Linked DNA regions of Homo sapiens: all the other regions are linked to region 2. The links are contacts of gene promoters, found by promoter capture Hi-C in blood cells and fetal thymus (Javierre and others, 2016). All regions are on one chromosome and are shown on one strand. The core of a region is centred on a gene start or on the middle of the fragment in contact, and the rest is flanking DNA. Distances in the headings are between cores, read along the strand shown. Region 1 has its middle 2.8 kb from the start of DENND10. Region 2 holds the start of INPP5F (inositol polyphosphate-5-phosphatase F). Region 3 overlaps EIF3A (eukaryotic translation initiation factor 3 subunit A). Region 4 overlaps LINC03036 (long intergenic non-protein coding RNA 3036). Region 5 overlaps CACUL1 (CDK2 associated cullin domain 1). Region 6 has its middle 3.5 kb from the start of GRK5. Region 7 overlaps SFXN4 (sideroflexin 4).

What was found. Contacts are between HindIII fragments. The CHiCAGO score rates a contact against its expected background, and 5 or more counts as called.
Region 1: a fragment that was not itself captured here is called in contact with the fragment with the promoter of INPP5F in region 2 in 5 of 17 cell types (fetal thymus, non-activated CD4 T cells, activated CD4 T cells and 2 more); the score reaches 13.1 in fetal thymus.
Region 3: a contact is called between a fragment that was not itself captured here and the fragment with the promoter of INPP5F in region 2, in 2 of 17 cell types (total CD4 T cells and non-activated CD4 T cells). The highest score is 7.0, in total CD4 T cells.
Region 4: a contact is called between a fragment that was not itself captured here and the fragment with the promoter of INPP5F in region 2, in 1 of 17 cell types (total CD8 T cells). The highest score is 7.0, in total CD8 T cells.
Region 5: a fragment that was not itself captured here is called in contact with the fragment with the promoter of INPP5F in region 2 in 1 of 17 cell types (neutrophils); the score reaches 11.6 in neutrophils.
Region 6: a contact is called between a fragment that was not itself captured here and the fragment with the promoter of INPP5F in region 2, in 2 of 17 cell types (fetal thymus and total CD8 T cells). The highest score is 5.8, in fetal thymus.
Region 7: a fragment that was not itself captured here is called in contact with the fragment with the promoter of INPP5F in region 2 in 1 of 17 cell types (fetal thymus); the score reaches 6.1 in fetal thymus.

The regions. Positions count from the first base shown.
Region 1 is chr10:119,099,485-119,103,055 of GRCh38, reverse strand. No RefSeq gene overlaps it. Among named protein-coding and RNA genes, the nearest start is that of DENND10, 2.8 kb to the left of the region's middle. The HindIII fragment of the contact is 268 bases long and covers 1,965-2,232 here.
Region 2 is chr10:119,723,642-119,727,337 of GRCh38, reverse strand. It overlaps INPP5F (inositol polyphosphate-5-phosphatase F), which reads right to left and starts at 1,288. Exons shown (of 20, transcript NM_014937.4): 1 at 979-1,288. The coding sequence starts at 1,075. RefSeq lists a silencer at 860-1,629 and an enhancer at 2,240-2,289. The HindIII fragment of the contact is 3,399 bases long and covers 1-2,795 here.
Region 3 is chr10:119,040,756-119,044,235 of GRCh38, reverse strand. It overlaps EIF3A (eukaryotic translation initiation factor 3 subunit A), which reads left to right. Exons shown (of 22, transcript NM_003750.4): 18 at 94-182; 19 at 1,464-2,242. Among named protein-coding and RNA genes, the nearest start is that of NANOS1, 13 kb to the right of the region's middle. The HindIII fragment of the contact is 5,604 bases long and covers 1-3,480 here.
Region 4 is chr10:119,021,485-119,025,066 of GRCh38, reverse strand. All of the region lies in intron 2 of LINC03036 (long intergenic non-protein coding RNA 3036), which reads left to right. Among named protein-coding and RNA genes, the nearest start is that of LINC03036, 6.3 kb to the left of the region's middle. RefSeq lists enhancers at 1-289, 1,475-2,117, 2,118-2,760. The HindIII fragment of the contact is 1,721 bases long and covers 765-2,485 here.
Region 5 is chr10:118,724,601-118,728,183 of GRCh38, reverse strand. The region is part of intron 3 of CACUL1 (CDK2 associated cullin domain 1); the gene reads left to right. Among named protein-coding and RNA genes, the nearest start is that of CACUL1, 29 kb to the left of the region's middle. The HindIII fragment of the contact is 5,468 bases long and covers 1-3,583 here.
Region 6 is chr10:119,202,192-119,205,870 of GRCh38, reverse strand. No RefSeq gene overlaps it. Among named protein-coding and RNA genes, the nearest start is that of GRK5, 3.5 kb to the left of the region's middle. The HindIII fragment of the contact is 1,703 bases long and covers 920-2,622 here.
Region 7 is chr10:119,159,973-119,163,301 of GRCh38, reverse strand. SFXN4 (sideroflexin 4) reads left to right here. Exons shown (of 14, transcript NM_213649.2): 3 at 888-962; 4 at 2,221-2,247; 5 at 2,333-2,387. Among named protein-coding and RNA genes, the nearest start is that of SFXN4, 4.1 kb to the left of the region's middle. The HindIII fragment of the contact is 382 bases long and covers 1,851-2,232 here.

The DNA.
Region 1 (3,571 bases), core at 849-3,348, 630 kb after region 2:
TAAAATGGGTGTCAAGAAAGGCTTCTCTGAGAAAGGGATATTTGAACTGAGATCTGAATGATAGTAACGACTCAGACATTGGAAGATTTGGCTCCAAGATTCCTCCTCTGGATCTACTGTCTGCCCCAACCCCAAGTCACACAGAGCTAATTAGGGAGGGTCCTTGGTGTCTGCAGGAATACAATCCCACCCTCATCTTTTTTTCTTTTTTCTTTTTTTTTTTTTTTTTTTGAGATGGAGTCTTGTTCAGTTGCCCGGCCTGGAGTGCAATAGCGCGATCTCGGCTCACTGCAACCTCCGCCTCTCGGTTTTAAGGGATTCTCCTGCCTCAGCCTCCTGCGTAGCTGGGATTACAGGCGTGAGCCACTGCGCCTGTTTTTTTCTTTTTTCTTTCTTTTTTTTTTGGAGACAGTTTCTCGCTATGTTGCCCAGGCTGCAATTTATACATTGGAGTATATTTAGGTGTGTATATGGCATTCCTGTTTCTCTCACTAAACTGAACCCCTGGAAGGCAGCACCCTGAACTACGTGCCCTTCTATTCTCTGGGCTTCCTGTTGTAGTATAACTGTTAATGTGTCTAGTTTTCACAGAAAAGAAGCAGGTGTTTAGAGGCTGAGGAGTGGGACACAGATGTGGAATCAGTTTGGAAGCCAACTAGAAACTTGCACTAGGTGGGGCACGGTGGCTCACGCCTGTAATCCTAGCACTTTGGGAGGCTGAGGTGGGTGGATCACGAGGTCAGGAGATTGAGACCAACCCGGCTAAAACGGTGAAACCCTGTCTCTACTAAAAATACAAAAAATTAGCCGGGCGTGGTGGCAGGTGCCTGTAGTCCCAGCTACTTGTGAGGCTGAGGCAGGAGAATGGCGTGAACCCGGGAGGCGGAGCTTGCAGTGAGCCGAGATCACGCCACTGCACTCCAGCCTGGGCGACAGAGCGAGACTCCATCTCAAAAACAAACAAACAAAAAATCACAAAAATTAGCTAGGCATGGTGGCAGGTGCCTGTAATCCCAGCTACTCAGGAAGCTGAGGCAGACTGGCTTGAACCCAAGAGAGGACGGTTGCAGTGAGCCAAGATCGCGCCACTGCATTCCAGCCTGGGCGACAGAGTGAGACTCCATCTCAGAAAAAAAAAGAAAAGAAATGAGGATGAAGACGATGATGAACAGATAATTAAACAAAGGAGAGGGAGATGATAGTGGGTGCAGGGAGGGGAAAGATAATGAGGGGTGTGTCCAGGCTCCAGTGAGTGGGATGATACCTGGAATTGACACCTCCTTCCCTCCTGTTTCTCCACAAGTGCTGTCTTACCTGCCAGACAGGTACACCAGAGTGAAGGGAAAAGGAATAGAGGGTGGAGAGAGCAGAGGCGACGCATCCCCAATCTTTAAAAGTAAGACTGACCTCTGCGCTGTCACAGACAGATGGAGCTGGGGTGTGGAAACAGACAACCTGAGTTCCAACCCCCTTGCCCATCTTAGCTGCGAAACCTCACACATGTTTCCTATCTTTTCTGTGCATGTTTTCTCAGTGATCAAATGGAGCTAACCATACTTTCCTCCGTGACTCTCCCAATAAAGATTTGAATCAGGGAAAATCTTTATGCTAGTTTTATTGATAAGAATAGCCTAATTTTATAGGTAAGAATATAAAGGGTCCCCAAGACCACCCCCCAAATTCAATGATTTGTTGGAAGGATTCTCAGGATTCAGCATATAGCTATACTCATGGCTATGATATACATTTTTATTTTTTTGAGACAGGGTCTCACTCTGTCACCCAGGCTGGAGTGCAGTGGCACGATCACGGCTCACTGCAGCTTTGATCCAGGCTCAAGCTATCCTCCCACCTCATCCTCCTGAGTAGCTGGGACTACAGGCAGGCACCACCATGCCTAGCTATTTTTTTTTTTTTTTTTTTGAGATGTGATCTCACCATATTGTGTAGGCTGATCTCAAGCTTCTGACCTCAAGCGATCTGCCCACCTCAGGCTCCAAAGTGCTGGGGTTACACATGTGAACCACCATCCCCAGCTCAGGGCTATGATTTATTACAGCCAGAGAATACAAAGCAAAATCAGCAAAGGGAAAAGGCACATGGGGTGATGTCTGGAGGAAACCAGGGCCAAGTTCCCAAGAGTTATTTCCTGGTAGAGTCACACAGGACACACCTAATTCCTCCAGCAACAAGTTGTGGCAATACTTGTGATATTTATCAACCAGGGAAGCTTGTTAGAACTCAGTCACCAAGTAACTCAGTTTTTACTGGGGGCCAGTCACATAGGTACCCTCTGCCTAGCTCATACCAGATTTCCAGACTCTCATGAACCACATTGTATGTACAAATAGTTCAGGCATAGTCTGTCACTCTGATCAGTTTGATCAGTTCTAGAAATGCTGGGAACACTGCCGAAGTCCAAGTTTCCAGGCACAGCCAAGGGCCAAACTGGCCAGCAGACTTTCTATGGATATCACCCTCAGGCCTGTCGTGTGAATTCTTTTTTGCACAGCCTGCTCACTCCTTGCTCTGCAGAAAAAGAGTAAGTTACTGGCACTGAAGCAGATTTGGAAAGTGCCTAAACTGTCTGGCCACATGGACAAGTGCACAAGGGACCCCAGCATCTTCCAGGTGTTCCAATCCCAGGTTCCTATGAGTCAAATATGGTTCTTTTTCATCTTTGTTTCTGTAATTGGATTCCATCATAGATTGGGCATGTGTCAGCCAAGGGAGCCATTAGGGTGGCAGTTTTTTTTTGTTGTTGTTGTTTTGTTTGTTTGTTTGTTTTGATGGAGTCTTGCTCTGTCGCAATGCAGTGATGCAATCTCAGCTCACTGCAACTTCCGCCTCCTGGGTTCAAGCAATTCTCCTGTCTCAGCCTCCTGAGTAGCTGGGACTACAGGCGCAGGCCACCACACCCGGCTAATTTTTGTATTTTTAGTAGAGACAGGGTTTCACCATATTGGTCAGACTGGTCTCGAACTCCTGACCTCAGGTGATCCACCCACCTCAGCCTCCCAAAGTGCTGGGATTACAGGTGTGAGCTACTGTGCCCAGCCTTTTTTTTTTTCTGAGACGGAGTCTTGCTCTGTCACCCAGGCTGGAGTGCAGTGGTGTGATCTCCACTAACTGCAACCTCCGCCTCCCAGGCTCAAGCAATTCTCCTGCCTCAGCCTCCCAAGTAGCTGGGACTACAGGTGTGTGCCACCAAGCCTGGTTAATTTTTTTTTATTTTTAGTAGAGATGGGGTTTCACCATGTTGGCCAGGCTAGTCTGAAACTCTTGGCCTCAAGTGATCCATCCGCCTTGGCCTCCCAAAGTGCTGGGATTACAGGTGTGATCCACCACGCCTGGCCAAGCTCTTTTAATTTAAGGGATTCAGTCTCACTTGGGAACTGGAAGGCGATTCAGTCAACTGCTCTGACACTCCGTCCTGACTTCTAGCATATGTGAGGCTTCCAGAACATTCCCAAGATGAAGTCATCCTCCTTGTGTTCTCAATGGTTTCAGGATGCTGGGTAGCTCTCCGGCCCTAAGAAGCCCAGGTTTCGAGCTGTGTTGCATTATTCTT
Region 2 (3,696 bases), core at 39-2,538:
TTTATCCTTTTCAATTCATATCATGTAATCCTTCTGTCTAGACTGCACATAAGAATTACAAGTAAGTCTGAAAAGCTCTGGCTCCTTCCTTAAAGAACTCTATCCTCTCGCTTTCCCTAAAGTGGAAGAATCTCTGAGTGATATGAGGAAAGGATTAGCAAGCCAAAAGGGGCAGGTGCCACCCAGCCCCATCTTACAAGAAACTGGACTGTCAGCGCTCTGAGGGCAGGGACTGCTCTGTTTAAACCACGACTGCACACACATTTTCCTAAAGCAAGCTAATTGCAGACTTAAGCCTCTCCGAACAGCTTACATGACACCCAAACATGGACCCACAATACATTTTGTGTCGCACAACATCAAGTCACACAAAAATCTCAAAATTATACATTACAATACAATTTAATTGTGCTGTGGTATTAAAGTCAAAGACAAAGGCTTTAAACCGAGTGCCTATGAGGTAACCACAGTAAAGTCACACCTTTAATAATAAGGGACCAAGAACACACGGGATGGCAACAGGGAGTGAGTGTCCAGCAGAGCCCTAGACGGAACTGGCGCAACCGCTCCAGATCGGAATTCGAACCCAGAACTTCTGGCGAAGGCCATGTAAGAACTACTCCAAGGAGGAAGAGGCCTTTACGGCCAGGTGCACCTTGCTGGAACTTTCTGCCGGAGGGGACCCCCTCCCCTCGGCCTGGGCCCCAAGCCCCAAGGGCGGCCGCGTGACGCGGTGGGAAGGACGAGGGTCGCCAGCCCCTTCTGCTCCGCACTGGGGTAGGGGCTCGGCGCTGTCTCGGAGAAAGGCCAGGCTCCTTCCAGTCAGGGAATAATGACAGCTCGCGCGCTCGCAGCCCGCCCCGCCCCGCCTCACCAGGCCCGCAGGCGGCTCCTCCCGCCCGGCTGAGGGGTCCGGCCGCGCCCCCTCCTCTCCCCGCCCTGGCCCGGGGTGCCCCCCGCCCGCACCGCCAGCCTCACCGGGTCGGAGCTGGAGGCCGCCGTCGCGGCGGCTGCACCACAGCGCGCGCTCGCCCTGCTGCAGGATGTAGTGGTCCTTGGCTTGGAAGAGCTCCATGCTGGCCCCGCGCGCCCAGGGAGGCGGCGGCCCGCGGGCGGCGCACGGGGCGTCCTAGTCGGTCGAGGCCGCCAGAGCCCGCGCCTCGGGGAGCGGCCGGGTAGGAACCGCGCCGAGAAGCAGCGGCAGAGGGAACGCCCCGGGGCACCCGACCGGTAGGAGGAGAACGCGCCCCGGCAGCGGCGGCGGCAGCGGCGGCCGTAGAGGCCTCTCCCCCCCGCTCCTCCCCTTCCCTGGCTCCGCCCCAGGCCCGGCTCCACCCCCTCTGCTGGCTACTCTCCCCGAGCGCCCGGCTCCGCCCCTCAGCCTCCTCCTCCTTTCAGCTCCCTCCCGCTTCCTGCCCTTTCCTCCGCCTTCTCCCGGGTGTCTCCTCCCAGCTCCTCCCCGCGGGTCTTTCCTCCTCCCTCTCGTCCTTCCGCCCGCCCCTCCCGCTCTTGCCCAGGCCCCTCCCCCGGCGCGCCAGCCTTCCTGTCGTGGTCACCGGTGGCAGCTCGGGAGCTCGGCCGAGTCGGTCTGGACTGACCGCCTCCCTCCGCGCGGCCTTGGGGACAGGCGCCCACCGCTGGGGCCTCCCCTCCGTGCAGGGAGGCGCTCACGCTTCGCCAGGCCGAGACCTGAATCCAACCCCACACCCGCTCTCCCGGAGCGGTGCGGGGTACGTTCCCCGCGGGCCTGCGCTGCCTGCCCGTACCGAAACCAGGCGAGACCCCGGGGCCTGGCTACAGGGGTTCATCCCCAGCCAGGCCCACAGCCAAGCGGAGGCGTCTTCTGTTTTCGTATTCCCTATTAGAAGTTTGACAACAGGAGGCATTCAATAAATGCACATCAACGAGGGAAAGCATGTAACAATAGAAAACACACAAGCATTAGCAGCACGCGGCTAAAGAGCGAGGAGGAAGGGAGGAATGTACAGGTGCTGCTGTGTCCCGAATTAAGCAGGGCGGTTTGGAGAAGACTTCACAAATGGAGCCAGTTAATGAAGCAAGCGGAAGGAATATCGTTTGGCGAGGATAAGATGAATGGAGACCCTCTCGGGGAAGGAGGAGTCTCCCCCAAACATCCTTGAGCTCAGTCTGTCTTGAAAAACCAGTTGATATCCTGAACAGAATGGGTCTGGAGAATGAGGCCCCCACTTCCGGGGCCAGTTCGAGGACTATCTAGCTGTGTGATCTTGGGGAAGTCTCTTGGTCTCAGATGGTGGTTGAACTAATGACCTTTTATGACACCCCCAGTTCTATAAATCATTGAGTCTTCCTACTCCTAACTCCTTGCCTTCTCTAATGCCTGAATCGGAAACAAGAGAAAAAGACAAGAAGTAGGAGATGAGAAAAATAAGGCAATACTTTTTTTTTTTTTTTTTTTAGTTTAGGAGCGGAAGTTTATAGGCAAAAGAAAAGGGAGAACAGCTGTCTCTCTTGCGAGAGAGAGGAGTGACCGAATGGGACTTCTCAGAAAGCAATACTTTTAACCTTCTGCTCAAGTAAAAGTGAGAGGGTACAAAAGCAGGAAGGAGTTCCACATGACTAGTTATTCCAGCCCACAGTGTTGAATTTCCATAGCACAGAAAGTCCAATGATAACAAAGCGTCCTGGAATCTTTTCTAAGTACCATGCCTCTGTGCTGTCCAGACACCTCAACATAAAGGTCGAGGGAGGTGGTTACTCTATCAAATCTTTGTGATGTGATTTGGAGAAAGAAGGTAATGAAGCTATAAGAAGCTTCAGTGGAACCATCGGTTTCAGATTGATTGTTTAATTCAGCCATGTGTTGACTTAGCAAAAATGAGAATGAGAAAATCCTATGAAGACATTGTATCCTGCAAATTATTTCATTATTGTTTTATGAATTACATTGCCAGATGTGAAGAAAACAATGCTGTTGTAACTGTTTTAAAACAATTAATTAGTTCATTGAAACTTTTCCTGATGTTTTAGATCCATGGTTCCAACCCTGGCTGCCTATTAGAATCACCTGGGGAATTTTTCAAACATATCAATGCTTGGACCTTAGACCAATTAAATCAGAATTTAATTGGGGTGGGGCTCTGGCATCAGTTTGTTTATTTTTTCTAAGCTCCCCAGATGACTTTACTATGCAGTCAGGCTTGAACACCACTATTTTAAGTGAAATTAATTAGTAAAATCTGCCTGACAGCAGCTTGGAAAAAAACAGCAGTCAGTCATTAACTAATGCCATCATATGGGCTTGGTTACCTGTAAATGCAGAGTTAACAAGCAAAGTCTTTAGGAGAGAGGAAAACATGGAGGGGAGATGCTTCTGTAATTATCTGACCCCAATGCACACTGCTGTCTCCCTCAGGCTCCAAACACATGCTGTGGGGTAGGCACAGCTCTAGCCTGGCTGAGCAGAGTGAAAAGAGCACATATTTTCTGTCCCTGGTAGATGTCACATCCCCAATCTACTGCCACAGTTGCCTTGCCTTGTTTCTGCTATGAACTTCCTGAACCTTGGCCACTGCAGCCTCTCCACTCCCTGGCTAGCCTATCCTCGGCCTGTGGCTAACTTGCCAGCCTCATCACCCTCTTCCAGCTTCCTAATTCAAGGTCCTCCTGCCCCGATGCCACCCAGGTTTTAATGGAAAGTTCACGTGATGCTGCTCT
Region 3 (3,480 bases), core at 282-2,781, 680 kb after region 2:
TATAAGTACAAAAAATATTTGAATGGTAATACCAGTAGTTGTAATAGTAAATGGTTACCAATGTAATGCTTCTTTTTCACTTTGTCAATGGAGGACTCTCGTTGGGGAGATAGAGATTCAGAAGGCACCTGGAGAAAAGGACCTGAAGCAGATTCTGAGTGGAGAAGAGGCCCGCCAGAGAAGTAAGTAGAGTTGAGGAAAATAATGCCGCTCCAGTTCCTGTTAATATCTTATCAGTGGTTTTAAAATTTGGTTCATTTTGTAGAGGCAGGGAAAGGAGAGCCATGAAGAATTGTGTGCATGTCTGATTGCGTGTGGGTTTGTATTTTGTTTTTTTGGGTCTGCTGCCCAGGCTGGGGTGCAGTGGCGCTATCTCGGCTCCCTGCAACCTCTGCCTCCTGGGTTCAAGTGCCTCAGCCTCTCGAATAGCTGGGATTACAGGTGTGTGCCACCACACCTGGCTACTTTTTGTATTTTTAGTAGAGATGGGGTTTTGCCATGTTGCCCAAGCTGGCTTTGACCTCTTGACCTCAAGCGATCTGACTGTCTCAGCCTCTCAAATTGCTGGGATGACAGGCATGAGCCACTGCACTTGGCCTGTGTTGTTGTTTTTGTTGTTGTTGTTGTTGTTTTGAGATGGCGTCTCACTCTGGAGTGCAGTGGCGCGATCTCGGCTCACTACAGCCTCAACCTCCCTGGGCTTAGGTGATCCTCCTGCCTCAGCCTCCTGAGTAGCTGGGACCACAGGTGCGCTCCACCATGCCTGGTTAATTTTGTTTGTTTGTTTCTTTGTTTTTGAGACAGAATCTAGCTCTGTCACCCAGGCTGGAGTGCAGTGGCGCGTTCTCGGCTCACTGCAGCCTCCGCCTCCTGGGTTGAAGCAATTCTTGTGCCTCCCAAGTAGCTGGGAGGCACTTGTAATCCTCCCAAGTAGGATTACAGACATGCACCACCACGCCTGGCTAATTTTTGCATTTTTAGTAGACCCGAGGTTTCACTATGTTGGCCAGGCTGGTCTTGAACTCCTGACCTCAAGAAATCTGCCTGCCTCGGCCTCCCAAAGTGCTGGGATTACAGGTGTGGGCCACTACGCCTGGTGAATTTTTATATTCTTTATAGTGATGGGGTTTTGACATGTTGCCCAGGCTAGTCTCAAACTCCTGGGCTCAAGCAATCCTCCCGCCTTGGCCTTCCAAAGTGCTGGGATTACAGGTGTGAGCGACTGTGCCCAGCCGCATGTCTTACAATTAAGTAGAGATGGGTTTTGCCAGGCCAGGCTGGTCTTGAACTCCTGACCTCAGGTGATCTGCCTGCCTCTGCTTCCCAGAGTGCTGGGATTAAAGGTGCGAGCCACTGCTCCGGCCCATACTGAAGTTTTTAAAAAGCATGTGAAAAAAAAAATCCCCAAAGGATCATATGCTTTTTTATTTTATATATTTTTAATTGTTCTTGTTGCTGTGTAGGGAGTGGAGACGTGGAGAAGGGCGAGATGAGGACAGGTCTCATAGAAGAGATGAAGAGCGGCCCCGGCGTCTGGGGGATGATGAAGATAGAGAGCCCTCTCTTAGACCAGACGATGATCGGGTTCCCCGGCGTGGCATGGATGATGACAGAGGCCCTAGACGTGGTCCTGAGGAAGATAGGTTCTCTCGTCGTGGGGCAGACGATGACCGGCCTTCCTGGCGTAACACAGATGATGACAGGCCTCCCAGACGAATTGCCGATGAAGACAGGGGAAACTGGCGTCATGCGGATGATGACAGACCACCTAGACGAGGACTGGATGAGGACAGAGGAAGCTGGCGAACAGCTGATGAGGACAGAGGACCAAGACGTGGGATGGATGATGACCGGGGGCCGAGGCGAGGAGGCGCTGATGATGAGCGATCATCCTGGCGTAATGCTGATGATGACCGGGGTCCCAGGCGAGGGTTGGATGATGATCGGGGTCCCAGGCGAGGCATGGATGATGACCGGGGTCCCAGGCGAGGCATGGATGATGACCGGGGTCCCAGGCGAGGCATGGATGATGACCGGGGTCCCAGGCGAGGGTTGGATGATGATCGAGGACCTTGGAGGAACGCCGATGATGACAGAATTCCCAGGCGTGGTGCAGAGGATGACAGGGGCCCTTGGAGAAACATGGATGATGATCGCCTTTCAAGACGTGCTGATGATGATCGGTTTCCCAGACGGGGTGATGACTCAAGACCTGGTCCTTGGAGACCATTAGTCAAGCCAGGTAAAATTCTATTTCCTAGAATATGCTTAAGTGTTCACCTGTAAAAGTGAAATTCTGATGGATAAATATCAGGGCTGTATTGTTATTTTCCAGATAAACTGGTCTTTCATCTTTCCTTCAGTATCATTTGCAGTGACTTCGCTGTCAAAAGTTTGCCTTCAGAATACCACCATCCAAAACATAAATAACCCAACCCCTCTCTTCTTTAGTGATGTGCTCTTTGTTTTCCTTCTGCTTCGATGACTGCTTCTTTGAAGGCTCTTCCTGTACTCATGCTTTCAGTATTGGTGTATTTTTCAGGTTTTACTGGGAACCAGCCTCCTTTTAAAAATAAATAATTGAAACCAAAATGTACTTTATATATTTATTTTTGCCAACTGAGAGATTATGCAAGGAGGAACTCATTTTACTTTACTTTTTTTGAGACAGGGTCTTGCTCTGTTGCACAGGCTGGAATGCAGTGGTGCAGTCATGGCTCACTGCAACCTTGACCTCCCGGACCCTAGGGAGCCTCCCACTTCAGCCTTCTGAGTAGCTAGGACTACAGGCGCATGCCACCACACCCTGCTAATATTTTATTTTTTGGAGAGACGGGGTTTCGCTATGTTGCCCAGGCTGGTCTCAAACTCCTGGGCCCAAGTTATCCTTCTGCCTCTCCCTCCCAAAGTGAAGTGCTGGGATAACGGGTGTGAGGCGCTGCGCCCAGCCTCATTTTTTTTCTTAGTCCTGGGCCTGCTTATTGTTTCACACTTTATTATTCGTGAGCAGTTGTATACATGTTTGTGACATGCGTCTATTACCATTTTTTTTCTTTTTGAGGTGGAGTCTTGCTCTGTCTCCCAGGCTGGAGTGCAGTGGTATGATCTCAGCTCACTGCAACCTCTGCCTCCCAGGTTCAAGCAATTCTCCTGCCTCAGCTTCCCAAGTAGCTGGGACTACAGGCACATGCCACCATGCATGGCTAATTTTTTTTTTTTTTTTTTTTTTTGGAGACGGAGTCTCGCTCTGTCATCTGGCTGGAGTGCAGTGGCGCGATCTCCCCTCACTGCAAGTTCTGCCTCCCAGGTTCATGCCCTTCTCCTGCCTCAGCCTCCTGAGTAGCTGGGACAACAGGTGCCTACCACTATGCCTGGCTAATTTTTTGTATTTTTAGTAGAGATGGGGTTTCACCATGGTAGCCAGGATGGTCTCGATCTCCTGACCTCTTGATCCGCCTGCCTCAGCCTCCCAAAGTGCTG
Region 4 (3,582 bases), core at 376-2,875, 700 kb after region 2:
CTTAACTTTGTTCTGATTCCTTCCCTCAGCCTCGGGGCATAACTGTGACAGGTTTAAGCAGAAACATCCCATTTCCCCTAGTCACCACTGGGTAAGGGGAGGGCTGGTGACCCATTCTCACCCTGGAGATCTCAGCGGACATCTGCTGTCTGCTGGGAGGATACTGGGAAGGGGTTTGCTTCCTTATATAAAAAGGGGGAAGAAATAAAGAACCAGGGCCCTCACCTTCTTCAGCTCAGGCTATAGAGCTGAGGTGATAAGGCTTAAGGACACAAAGCTGGCGCAAGGTGATGGCTTACCAGAAAAGTTAAAACAAAAAACAAACCTTAGTGATATTTTTGTTGATGACTTGGTGACTTGTTACACGAGATAATTATAACATCTCTATTATTTCAGCCACTTCAAGTCAGGTATCCTTTTATTTATTTATTTATTTGAAACAGTGTCTCACTCTGTCACCCAGGCTGGAGTGCAGTGGCATGATCTCGGCTCACTGCAACCTCCACCTCCCAGGTTCAAGCGATTCTGGTGCCCCAGCCTCCCGAGTGGCTGGGATTACAGGCATGCACCACGATGCCCAGCTAATTTTTGTATTTTTAGTAGAGACAGGGTTTCACCATGTTAGCCAGGCTGGTCTTGAACTCCTGACCTCAGGTGATCCACCTGCCTTGGCCTCCCAAAGTGCTGGGATTACAGACGTGAGCCACCACACCACGTCCAGGTATCCTTTTATACGTGCAGTTGACTTCATTCTTAATCAAGCTTGTCCAACCTGTGGCCAGGTGGCCTCATGTGGCCCAGGACAGCTTTGAATGCGGCCCAATACAAATTTGTAAACTTTCTTAAAACATTATGAGATTATGCACAGACCTTTTTTAATTAAGCCCTTCAGCTGTCATTAGTGTGTTTTATGTGTGGTCCAAGACAGTTCTTCCATTGCGGTCCAGGGAAGCCAAAACATTGGACACCCTTGTTCTAAATGAAACATGTAATACTGTGAAAAAAAATACATTTGGTTATTCTGTCGAAAAGGTAGGCTACCATATTCTGGCCAGGTGGAGGTGACGACCATGTCAGAATTCTCTGTGTGTGGACAAGGCTGGAAGGGGATGCGGAGAATGGGAAACGGGTGCCGTGGTGTCATCTCACACCCCCTGCCTTGGGCTAAAGTCTCCCAGCTGGTAATAATACCACCACCATCAGCACCAGGTGCTTGACATGCACTATTCCATGTGCCCCCCACCCCCAACCCTGCCCCGCAAGGCAGGTGCGCTGGTGACCTGTTGGAGACGGGGGCAAAGCTCAGCATGGAGCCCAAGGCTGAGAAGCTCAGGAGCAGCAGGACTGAGATTTGCACCCATTTTTCTCTCACTCCCCGAACCTGGGTTTGTGCCTCCTTGGATGCACCCGGTCATTCTTGGGACTTCTGGGGTCCAGATGTGCGGGAGACTGGCCAGCAACACACAGCGGCAGGGGCAGGAGAGGACACATTCCAGTCCGTGTCAGCAATGTCCCCTGAACAAAACCAACCCCATTTAAAAGCAGTCTGGGTGTTTCTGTTTATCCAGTAGTGGGTACTTTGGTAAAGTGAGTAATCCTTTCTCCCTCCAGCACTTGCCCTCCTCCCTGCCATGTGGTTTTCTTTTAGAAATCTGGAGTGTCCCAATTTTGTTTAAAGCAGGAGCTGCCTGGAGGCTGACAGGCGGAAGGGCAGATGTCCCTGGGCTGATGATGCTGATAATAGCAATAACAGTAGCTCACAGGTGCTGAGCCCTTACCGTGCACTAAGCATTCACTCATATCATTTCTGAAATCCTCCCAGCAGGCCTACAATGATAAGCATTTCACAAAAGGGAAAATGAGGTTTTGGGAGGCTAAAAGCATGCCCAGCAGCTCACAGCTAGCTGGTAGGTGGCATTTCTTCAAGGCCCGCACTGTTAACCCTCACACCTCCTTGATCATCCCCTGGCCCGTGGATACTCATTCATTTGGAATTCACTACATCCGGCCTCCCCACCTCCTCCTGTGCTTCCCTAAATGGGGCCATCAGCCTTCTCTCACCCGTCGTCAATCCCTGCTGTCTGCAGGGGGAGGGAAGTAAAAAGCTGACAGGAAGGAGTTACATGTAAAATGGTAACCTGTAGATTGAGACTGTTCTCCAACAGGTCTGAGGGCTCTAGGCAGAGGGAGGGGAAGCGGGGATATGAGGGCTGTGGAAAGGATGGGACCAGACTGCCAAGCAAAGAATGCTATGTGTGGTTCTGCAGGTTGTGTACAGTTCTGCAGGTTGTGTACTGCACAACCGCTTCCCATCTAAGGGGGCACCTTTACTTCATAGACATAGTAACTCTGTGATCATTTTCTGGCCGACCTTGAGTAAAGTATCTTCTAACGAAATCAGTATATTATGACACTTCACTGACAGATGGAAAAAGATACCTTGTGGAAGAAGTGTCTTTTCCTAATTTGCTCAAAGCCCAAAGCTTTGGCTCTGGCCGAGGTGTGAAATGCTGAGCTTCTTGAAGGCGGGCCTCAAGTTTGACATTAGTACCCCTTTTCTTGTTTCCCCATTCTGAAGCTTCAGGTGGAGAGTCTCCTGAATTCAGCTGATCAGGTGCTGGGCACAGTTCTGCCCTGGTTGTTACTGGTGGATCAGCTGCCCCTTGGGACTAACATTTAACTTTATTTTTGAGACAGTCTTGCTCTGTCGCCCAGGCTGGAATGCAGTGGCACGAGCTTGGCTCACTGCAACCTCTGCCTCCTGGGTTCAAGCGATTCTTCTGTCTCAGCCTCCTGAGTAGCTGGGACTACAGGCATGCACCACCACGCCTGGCTAATTTTCATATTTTTAGTAGAGATGGGGTTTTGCCATGTTGCTCAGGTTGGTCTAGAACTCCTGGGCTCAAGCAGTCCGCCCGCCTCACCCTCCCAAAGTGCTGGGATTACAGGCGTGAGCCACCTCGCTGGGCCGGGACTAACATTTTAAAGATTGCTCAAGTCATTTTAGCCATCTTCTTCTGGTCTTATCTGATTTGCACTGATCCTCTCCCAGCCGTCCTGAGTTCTCCAGGGATTTTGTGTGCTCGGAGCTGCCTCTCCACAGTTGTGTCTGTCTTCAGGCTTCTACGGCTTAGTGACCAGAAGGCAGGTGGGCCCCAGGGAGCGGATGGAGGATCCAAGCTCTGTATAAATTGAGTAGCCTCGAGCAAAATCAGTTCCTGTCTCTGGATCTTAGTTTTAAATTTCAGTTTAAAATAATTGGGCTGGCCTAAGTGATTTCTTGGCCCTTTCCATCTCTAAAATTCATTTATTTACCATCAAGGTCTGGGGATAAGTGGCAAATAAGACTGACGTACTTCTGACCTCATGGAGCTTACACTCGAATTGGGCAGACAGACAAGTAAACAGGCGATGACACTTGGTGGGGGCAGGTTCGCTTCCTGTTGCGGTTGTAACAAATTACCACCCATATAGTGGCTGAAAACAACACACTGATTTTCTCAGCGCTCTAGATGTCAGAAGTCCACAGTGGGTCTCACTGGGCTGAATTCCCTCTGGAGGCTCTTGGCGGGGAACCTGTTT
Region 5 (3,583 bases), core at 459-2,958, 1.0 Mb after region 2:
GGTCTGAGATAGCTTAGTTTTTTTGTGTTTTTTTTCCCCAAACAGTTGTTGCACTAAGTAGCATTTTGTTTTCTGTTTCAAATGATAGAGCTGTGTTTTGTCATAGTCAGATATATACTTTTCTTGTTGTTAGTATAAATTTCTTTCTTCATCTTTTTGCCGCTAACTATAAAATCTTTATTCATTTAACACATATGTTTAGTGCTTAGGCATTGTGTATAAATTGTTGATGAAACCCTAGATCTATGCTTTATAGCTTTTGAGTGATTTGCTTTCTAATTCTTCACTCCACCATCTACCTGAATTTCTACCTGAATCCAGTTTATGGACTTCGGGTCTCGCTGTGGACTCTGTCACACACTTCTGTTCATTTGCCAGTACCCTAGTCAGGTTCATCATCATTTCTCGACTGTTTTACTGAAATGCTTATCTCAACTGCCTTACTTCATTGATACACCTTAATTTAACCAGTTTTTGATTGATGAATATTTAGGTTACTTCCAGTCTTTGGCCATTACTAACAGTGCTGAAGTGAATAGTCAGTCTTGTAAGTAATGTCGTTTACTAAGTCTAAATTGTGGTTCACAGAAGTTGTATCAAGTTGCATTCCCATCAGTTCTGTATATATCACAGTGTCTGTTTTCCCTCACCCTACTAATACAGCCTATTATGAAACCAAATAATTTTTAGTTTTATATTAATATAGTAATGATTCTTATTAATGATTAAAACATAAATCAGAGTGATATTTCTTCTGATGTTAGTGTTTTTTTTTTTTTTAATTTTTTTGAGATGGGGGTCTCGCTCTGTCTCCCAGGCTGGAGTGCAGTGGTACAATCATGGCTTACTGCAGCTTTGACCTCCCTGGGCTCAGGCGATCCTCCCACCCCAGCCTCCCCAGTTGCTGGCACTACAGGTGCATGCCACCATGCCTGGCAAATTTTTTATGTTTTTTGCTTTAGAGATGGGGTTTTGCCGTGTTGCTCATGCTGGTCTCAAACTCCTGGACTCAAGCGATCTGCCAGCCTCGGCCTCCCAAAGTACTAGGATTACAGGTGTGAACCACTGTGCCCAGCGTGATGTTAGTATTTTTTAAAAGGGTGATATATGATATAAAACCAGGGAATTTAGTTTGTTTTTAGAATCAATACATGTCCCACTTAGAGTTCAGCAATATGGTCTTATGAAAAGTCTAGCTTCAAAATGATTCCTTTTATAAGATTATAACGATTGTAACCATTATTAAATAGCAGCGGGGAGTGGTTTAAAACATGGGGATCCAGGGCTCTGTTTCCAGCTCTGTCACTCAGCATTTGTGTGTTTGCCTCTTTATTAAACGTGCTAATATATATCATCTTATAAATTTTCTTGACATTAAAATGAAGTAGATTTACTAGACTATCTCGTTGCTTCACACTAAGGTGTAAGGTATTTTCTCGACATCAAAAGGAAGTAGATTTACTAAAATATCTGTAGTTCTTTACACTAAGGTGTAAGGTATTTTTTCTTCTGCTTCCTGCCTGGCAAATGCTTCTTCATTCTTTTCTTAGGCTTAAGCTCATTTGTGTCCATCTGTGTAAAGCCTTCCTGGAACTCCTGCACTCCTCTCAAAACCGAACAGACTATTGGCATTTCTTCTGTGGATCCATAGCATCTCAGCAATAAGAAGTCTATTAGGGCAGTGATTGTGTTATTGTTTCTGCTTCCCTGTCTGACTACTTCACAGGCCCTTCCTTGAGGGGGAGGGACTCTATCGTGTTTGTCTTTTTATCCTTAGTGTCTGCCACAATTACAACTCAGCAGATGTGTTCTGGCTGAATGCTGAGTAACTAAATGTGACCTGTACTAATGGAAAGAGTAGCATAATTAGCTTCAGATGACCACTACTCCTGTGCTCTCTAGATTTGTAAGCATTTTATTTATTTGTTCAGTGTGATGTGTGTGGCCTGATGTAATCTTTATTTTATAGAGACCTTAAGGCAGTTTTCATGGGGACAGATCAAGAGACGGTGCCAGGCTTTATGAGCCAGAAACATTTTATTTGGATGGAGCATTTTGTTTGCAGCTCTGGTTTTCATAATGAAATATTGTTGTTATGAGCCAAAATAAGAGCGTGGGAGGAGTTGCATTTGGCAGATAATCAGAAATTTAGTGCTGGAGTTGATAAATCAATGATTTGGACCTACAGGGCGTCAGCCTCAGTCAAGGGCATCTTAAAATAGCTGTGGGTTTGTATAGTTTATATGTCAGAGGGACTTATTTATTTTTATCCCAAGGCATATCCTGTTGGGGAGATTGAAGAGTATATAAAATAATGTTCCCATATTCTCCAGTTATTTTTGGTGTTGACGTAAAAACTAGAGAACATGGTTTTTAGAGATTTTAGAATAATTTGTTGAATGTAAATATTTTTTACATGACAGCATAATCTAACTTGCTGCCTCTTTTTTGTTTTTAAACACATTTCTTTCATTTTGGAAAAAATTACTTTACTTCAGGCACTTTAAAGTTTTTTTTGTTGTGTTGTTAAACTAATAAAACAAATAGCTAAGTCCCCTTAGTGTTCTCCTTACTATTATATTTCACTGCATGTGTATCTATACATTTTAACTTACTGCTGGATTGTTCAAAATTGTGAACAGTATCTTTTGCCTTAATTTTTTTAAACCAGGCTCTTTTCTCGTCCTTATTAACTCCGCTCTTCTTATTTATTTATGAGACAGTGTCTCAGTCTGTTACCTAGACTAGAGTGCAGTGGTGTGATGCTGGCTCACTGCAGCCTTGACCTCCTGGGCTCAAATGATCCTCCGGCCTCAGCACCCCAAGTAGCTGGGACTACAGGTGTGCACCACCATGCCTAGCTAATTTTTGTATTTCTTGTAGAGGTGGGGTTTTACCATGTTGCCCAGGCTGGTGTTGAACTTCTGGACTCAAGTGATCTTCCTGCCTTGGCCTCCCAAAGTGCTGGTATTACAGACATGGGACACCACTCCCGGCTGTTCTTTCTTTAAAAGTAATAACGAAGTTCTATTTATTTTTATTTTTCTGTATCTCCAGAGCCTCAAAATGTACATTTCCAATTCTGGTATTTTCCTATACCAGTGAATGGAAATAGATGACTATAGAGAGTAAATTGGTTTACCAATTCAGTAAATAATATTCTGAATAGTTTTGGAAAATTCTATGGAAACATTTAGAAATTACCATATTTTTTGTGAGAGACCAGGACCCTAACATTAGGACCTACACTTGCCTGTTGGATTTGAATTTCATCTTATAGATACCTCATACTGAGGTCTAAATCTAAATTTCTCTTCATTCAAATTAGTTTCTTTCTGAGGCTTGGTATTTCATATTCCTCTTAGCTTTTTCTCTCCTATTTCTGGGTGCTAGTTAAGGTGGATGGAATACTATAATATATCTTGCTCTGTCCTCTTTGATTCCCATTGTTGTCTTCCTCTTCCACGTCATCATTGGCTCATGCCTGCACTAGTGGAATATTCTTTTAATTGGTTTGTCTTCCTGCAGTCTCTTCTTTTGGCTGAACAACCTAAAAACCCTAATTTGATAGACATACTTTCTT
Region 6 (3,679 bases), core at 522-3,021, 520 kb after region 2:
GGTCACTTGCTGGCAGCATAGGGCCTGATGAAGCCCGAAGTTTGTTTATTCGGCTAACATAAAAAAAAAAAGAAAGAAAATTTTTGAATGCCTTTAGATGGCTTATGCACCTTAACAATTTTCTTGGGCCGGGCGCGGTGGCTTACGCCTGTAATCCCAGCACTTTGGGAGGCCGAGGCGGGAGGATCACGAGGTCAGGAGATCGAGACCATCCTGGCTAACAGTGAAACCCTGTCTCTACTAAAAATACAAAAAAAAAATAGCCGGGCGTGGTGTTGGGCTCCTGTAGTCCCAGCTATTCAGGAGGCTGAGGCAGGAGAATGGCGTGAACCCGGGAGACGGAGGTTGCAATGAGCCGAGATCGCGCCACTGCACTCCAGCCTGGGCGACAGAGCGAGACTCCGAACCAAAAAAAAAAAAAAAAAAAAAAAACAATTTTCTCAAAGGTTGTTTTTGTTTGTTTTTTTGTTTTGTTTTGTTTTGAGACAGTTACTCTGTCACCCAGGCTGGAGTGCAGTGGCCCAATCTCGGCTCACTGCAACCTCGGCCTCCCAGGTTCAAATGATTCTTGTACTTCAGCCTCCCAAGTAGCTGGGATTACAGGTGTGTGCCACCATGACTGGCTAATTTTTGTATTTTGAGTAGAGACGGGGTTTCGCCATAATGGCCAGGCTGGTCTTGAACTCCTGGACTCAAGTGATCCAACCCGCCTCTGCCTCCCAAAGTGCTGGAATTACAGGCATAAGCCACCATGCCTGGCTCAAAGTTTCATGAGCATACAAATCACGGGGGATCTTGTTAAAATGCAGATTGCATTTGGATAGATCTGGGGTGGTTTCTGAGATGTTGCTCTTTCTAACAAACTCCAGGGCTCTGTCGATCCTCGTGGTCAGTAGACCACACTCAGAGTTGAAAAGCTTTCTAGTTTACCGTAACTCCCTATTGTCTTATACCCAGCCCAAGTCACTAGTGATTTTATTTATCTGGCCTGTATAGACATTTAAGTTTTCCATCCTGGGAACCCCTGCCTCTCCCTCTCATTTTACAGATGTGAAACAGACCCAAAGTAAGTGAGTTGGCATGGTCACTCAGCAAGTTAGTGTTAGACTATTTTTTTGTCCACTACAAGCTGTTGCATCCTGCCTACACAAATACATGGTTGTACATCAGGTTTTTGTGCCTCTATGAGGAAATTCAGACACTCCAATGCAAGAATGGAACAATAATGGCTAGCATTTACTCAACACCAACTGTGGGCCAGGCTCTTGTGGTCTTTTAAATGGATTATCTCCTTGAACACAATATCCAGATGAGGTAGGGAACACAGGCCTATTTTATAGATAAAGCACCAGGTTAAGAAAGGTTTTATAGGCCGGGCACGGTGGCTCACGCCTGTAATCCCAACACTTTGGGAGGCCAAGGCAGGCAGATCACCTGAGGTCAGGAGTTCGAGACCAGCCTAACATGGTAAAACCCCGTCTCTACTAAAAATACAAAAATTAGCTGGGTGTAGTGGCAGGTGCCTTGTAATCCCAGCTACTCGGGAGGCTGAGGTAGGAGAATGACTTGAACCCGGGAGCCAGAGGTTGCAGTGAGCCAAGATCATGCCATTGCACTCCAGCCTGGGCAACAGAGTGAGACTTTTTTTTTTTCCTCAAAAAAAAAGAAAGGTTTTATAATTTGTCCAGGGTCACATAAGTAATAAGTAGAAGACCCGGGATTTGAACCTGTCAGCCTGACTCAGAGTTGGTGCACTTAATTTCTGGCTTGCGCAAGCTAGCCAGCACAGCTTGGTAGTAACTGTTCTGTGTGGCTGCCGGGATGAACTTGTATTATAAGAAGGCAAAGCACCCAGTTGACTAAATCATTAAGATTTCAAGGGGTTTTCCATTTTCATCTATAATTCCACCATTATGGCTTTATTCCTTTCAATTAACTGCACTAACAACTCGTGGTCTTCTTGAAAAATGGGTTTGATTCAAGGAAGAGTAGGCTATTAAATATAAATAGCTAAGTAGGGAATCATTGACAGCCAGCTGAGAGCAAGAAGGGAAATCCAAATGGAGGAGTGGGGGTGAGGATGGAGGGATGGGAATATGTCAAAGACAGCCAGCTTCAGACTCCACTCAGGAGCAGCTGAGCCAAAAATGCAAAAGAAGTCAGATGCAGTGGCTCATGCCTACAATCCCAGCACTTTTAGAGGCTAAAGCAAGGGTGCAGGGGATGGGGGGGTGGAGATCGCTTGAGCCCAGGAGTTCGAGACCAACCTAGGCAACATAGCGAGACCCTGTCTCTACGAAATAAACCTAAAAATTAGCCAGGTATGGTGGCACTGAGCTATGATCGCCCCACTGCACTCCAGCTTGGGTAACAGAGTAAGACTGTCTCTAAAAAATAAAAAAGCAAAAGAAACAGGGAACCTTCAAATTCTTCTCTCAGCACCTGTATCTGCCATGAATAAAGCTGCTGGGTCAGAGTTCTTGTAAATAGAAGTCTACTATGCTGGAAAGCCACAAACCTATCGGCCTTCTAAAATATAGATTCCTTTTGCCTGAATAATCAAATTGGCTTTCTGAATAGTCCAGGAACTGGAGTTTCCATTCCTTTCCTTGACTCAAAGCTTTTTAATCCTCAGGAAGCAGCTGCAGATAGAGCTTCCATTCTCTCATTTATCCTCTTCTCCTTCAGAGTTTACCTTTCTGTGTCCAGCCCTGCAGGGAGTTCAAGGCAATTTCCCAGGGAGCTCGCCACTGGGAAGGAAAACACACCGGATGCAAACAACCTCCATACAATGGAATAAGGGCCATTGTGGAGACACACACAAAGGACTTTGCAAACGGGAAGAAGTGATTTCAGGCACCAAAAGAGGAGAAATGTGAGCTGAAAGCAAATCTGGAGGCTTGAGGTTTCCAGTTAACATTTCCTCCCCTCTGAATTCCCTTCATCAATGGACCTCAGTGGTTATCAATTGGACATTAAAAGTTTTACTATGGGCAGGGCACAGTGGTTCACGTCTGTAATCCCAGCACTTTGGGAGGCCAAGGTGGGCAGATTACCTGAGGTCAGGAGGTCGAGAACAGCCTGGCCAACATGGTGAGACCCGTCTCTTCTAAAAATACAAAAACTAACCAGGTATGGCAGCGTGCGCCTGTAGTCCCAGCTACTCAGAAGGCTGAGGCACGAGAATCACTTGAACCCGTGAGGCAGAAGTTGCAGTGAGCCGAGATGGTGCCGCTGTGCTCCAGCCTGGGCGACAGAGCGAGACTCTGTTTCAAAAAAAAAAAGAAAAAGTTTTAACATGTTGTAAACTGCCTATTGCTCTTCTAGTGACTTCATATTTTTCTTTTTTTTTTTTTTTTTTGAGATGGAGTCTCGCTCCGTTGCCCAGGCTACAGTGCAGTGGCATGATCTCGGCTCACTGCAAACTTTGCCTCCTGGGTTCAAGCGATTCTCCTGCCTCAGCCTCCCGAGTAGCTGGGATTACAGGTGCGCACCACCACACCTGGCTAATTTTTGTATTTTTAGTAGAGGTGGGGTTTCACTATGTTGACCAGGCTGGTCTTGAACTCCTGACCTCAAGTGATCCACCCACCTCGGCCTCCCAAAATGCTGGGATTACAGGTGTGAGCCACCATGCCCGGCCAATATTTTTCTTTAAAGTCAGCTCACTTTGAAAACT
Region 7 (3,329 bases), core at 792-3,291, 560 kb after region 2:
GACAGACTGGCTAAACTGGTCACATCCTGGGTGACAAGAGTGAAACTCCATCTTTAAAAAAAAAAAAAGAAGAAAGAAAATGTAATAAAATTAGAAGCAAATATAACCAGATGTTTACAGTTGTTAATTCTGGGTGAGGGGATTATAGTGTGTAGCCATTCTTTGTAATTTTTGTATTTATTTTTTCTCAAATTAAGAAATGGAGGCTGGCTGTGGTGGCTCATGTCTATAATCCCAGCACTTTGAGAATCTGAGATGGGAGGATCTCTCGAGAATAAGAATTTGAGACCAGCCTGGGCAATGTAGCGAGACCCTATCTGTACAAATAAAAATAGAAAGTTAGCCAGGTGTAGTGGGTTGTGCCTGTAGTCGCAACTATTTGGGAGGCTGAGGCAAGAGGATCACTTAAGCCCAGAAGTTTAAGGCTGCAGTGAGCTATGATCACACCACTGCACTCCAGCCTGGGCAACAGAGTGAGACCCTGTCTCTTAAAAAACAATAAGAAAAGAAAGAAAGAAAAAGAGAGGAAATAAGACTGAACTGATAAGACATGGAAGTGGGTGAGGGAGAAGGACTTCTAGGTTTCTGACATGTATAGCCAGGGGATGGTGGTAACCATTCAGTGCGACAGTTGACATCAGAGAGTGGGGGAGGTGACAGCACCATTGGGGGCAGCTGCTGGAGCATCTAGGAAGAGGAAGGCATAAATCTGAATGGCACTCAGGGCTATCCTAATGGATAGAGAGCCTAGGGCACCATGTGGCTTGAAATCAGGCATGCAGTCGAAGTCCAGTGCATGCTGGTGAGTGAGCTGGTGATTCCTACCTCTGGGGATAAACCTGAACAATGTTGAGATCATTACTTGATTACTTGATATCTGATTTTAGGAAAGTATAGAAAACTCGAGGCAACTATTGTGCACAAATGAAGATGTTTCCAGCCCTGCCTCGGCGGACCAAAGGGTATGTTTCACGTGCTCAGGTCTGGCTGGTTGCCCTCAGATGGTTCTGCCTGCATGGTCTGAAGTCAGGTGGAATTTGGCCATTAATCTCTGTCTCCGTCTCTTTTCTTTCTTTTTTCCTTCCCTTGGGAGCCACTGTTCTATTGGCTATTAATGCTGTCATTGTTATATACTGCCCAGAGGACCAGCTTTGCAAAACTGGGTTAGTTTTTTAAATGTAGTTAGAATTCTGTCCCATAAACCAGACAGCAAGTTTCCTCCTACACAGTGGATATTTGTGGGGATTCCCTGCAGCTGATTCCTGGAGCCCAGTGGCAAACCCCAGAATTCAGACAGGGCTCTGACGTCAGAATTCATTCTCCACTGCAGGCAGCGTTCCTGCCGATAGGCTCAAACGGACTGTTCCTTATCTACCTTGCAGTATGTGGGGCTTTCTGGAGCTCACAAACACCAGCTCCTCAAGACAGCCTATGGAGAGCTCACATATTTAACTTTTTCTAAGAATGTGCTGGGGACCCTGGGCTGACAGCTTGGCTCTGTTGCAAGTAACTTGACTGATGGCATGGTGTGTCATCAGCACACAGCCTGCTCTGCTCTGAGCCAGAGGCAAGCCGGATTCGGGGACTCATCTGAGGGATAAGTTAGGTGTTGGTATTCTCCAAGGGTAGAGACAGGACTTTTTAATGTTCTGGTCCATTTCTCTGTGTGGCTCGTCTCTTTGCTTGTCATTAGTTCATTTGTTTATTCATATGATCCATTTATTTTGATTTGTTCTGTCAATGTGGTAAATAACAGCTCTGGCCTTCACTCTCTGAAAGGTAGAACAAATGTGGTCCCAGAAATGAGACAGGCAAAGAAATTCTTTGCTGTTGAGCCACCTTTAAAAGCTTTTTTTTTTTTTTTGTTTTTTTTTGTTGTTGTTGTTGTTTTTTTAAGGCTGGGTGTGATGGCTTAACCCTGTAATTCCAATGGTTTGGGAGGATGACTTGATGCCAAGACTGCAAGACCAGCCTGGGCCGTATAGCAAGACCCCATCTCTACTAAAAATTAAACAACTAGTTGGGAATGGTGGCGTGAGCCTGTAGTTTCAGCTATTCAGGAGGGTGAGGTGGGAGGATCGTTTGAACCCAGTAGTTCGAGGCTGTTCTGCAGTGAGTGATGATTGTGCCACTATACCCCAGCCCTGGGTGACAGAGCAAGACCTTGTCTCTTAAAAAAAATTTAAAATGAAACAAAGCTATTCTTTTTTCTCCTTTAAGATACAAGAAGCTTGGAAGCGGAGTCTTGTAAGTTTCAGCCCCTTCCTAATTTTTAGTGTCCTATAATAACAAAACCAGACATCCAGCTAACCTTGCATCTCTCCTTTTGAAGGCAACAGTGCATCCCGACAGCAGCAACCTGATCCCCAAGCTTTTTCGACCTGCAGGTGAGTTGGTTCTAATTTTCAGAAGTGGGTTGGGAAGATGTAGTTTCTAACACTTAGAAAACTCTGCCTGCCGGATCACCTGGGGTCAGGAGTTCGAGACCAGCCTGGCCAACATGGTGAAACCCCGTCTCTACTAAAAATGTAAAAAATTAGTTGGGCATTGTGGTGGCACGTGCCTGTAGTCCCAGTTACTCAGGAGGCTGAGGCAGGAGAATTGCTTGAACTTGAACCCGGGAGCCGGAGGTTGCAGTGAGCTGAGATCATGCCATTGCGCTCCAGCCTGGGCAACAAGAGTGAAACTCCGTGTCCAAAAAAAAAAAAAAAAAGAAAAGAAAACTCTGCCTGCCTTGCTTTAATTATTTCTCCCCCAGCAGGATTTCTTTCTTTTTTTTTTTTTTTGAAACAGTGTCTTGCTCTGTCACCTAGGCTGGAGTTCAGTGGCACAATCTCGGCTCACTACAACCTCCGCCTCCCAGGTTCAAGTGATTTCTCCTGCCTCAGCCTCCTGAGTAGCTGGGATTACAGGTGCCTGCCACCATGCCCAGCTAATTTTTTTCCTTTGTGTATTTTTAGTAGAGACAGGGTTTCACTATGTTGGCCAGGCTGGTCTCGAACTCCTGACCTTCTGATCCGCCCACTTGGCCTCCCAAAGTGCTGGAATTACAGGCGTGAGCCACTGTGCCTGGCCATGTTATAGTAATTTTATGTACATACTTTATTATTATTGTCATTTTTAGAGACAGGGTCTCGCTCTGTTACCCAGGCTGGAGTACAGTAGCACCATAATAGCTCAAAGCAGCCTCCAACTCCCAGGCTCAGCTGATCCTTCTACCTCAGCCTCCTGAGTAGCTGGGACTACAGGGTCATGCCGCCACACCTGGCTTTAAATTTTTTATGGAGGTGGGGGTCTCGCTACCTCTACAAAATAGAGGCTGGTCTCGA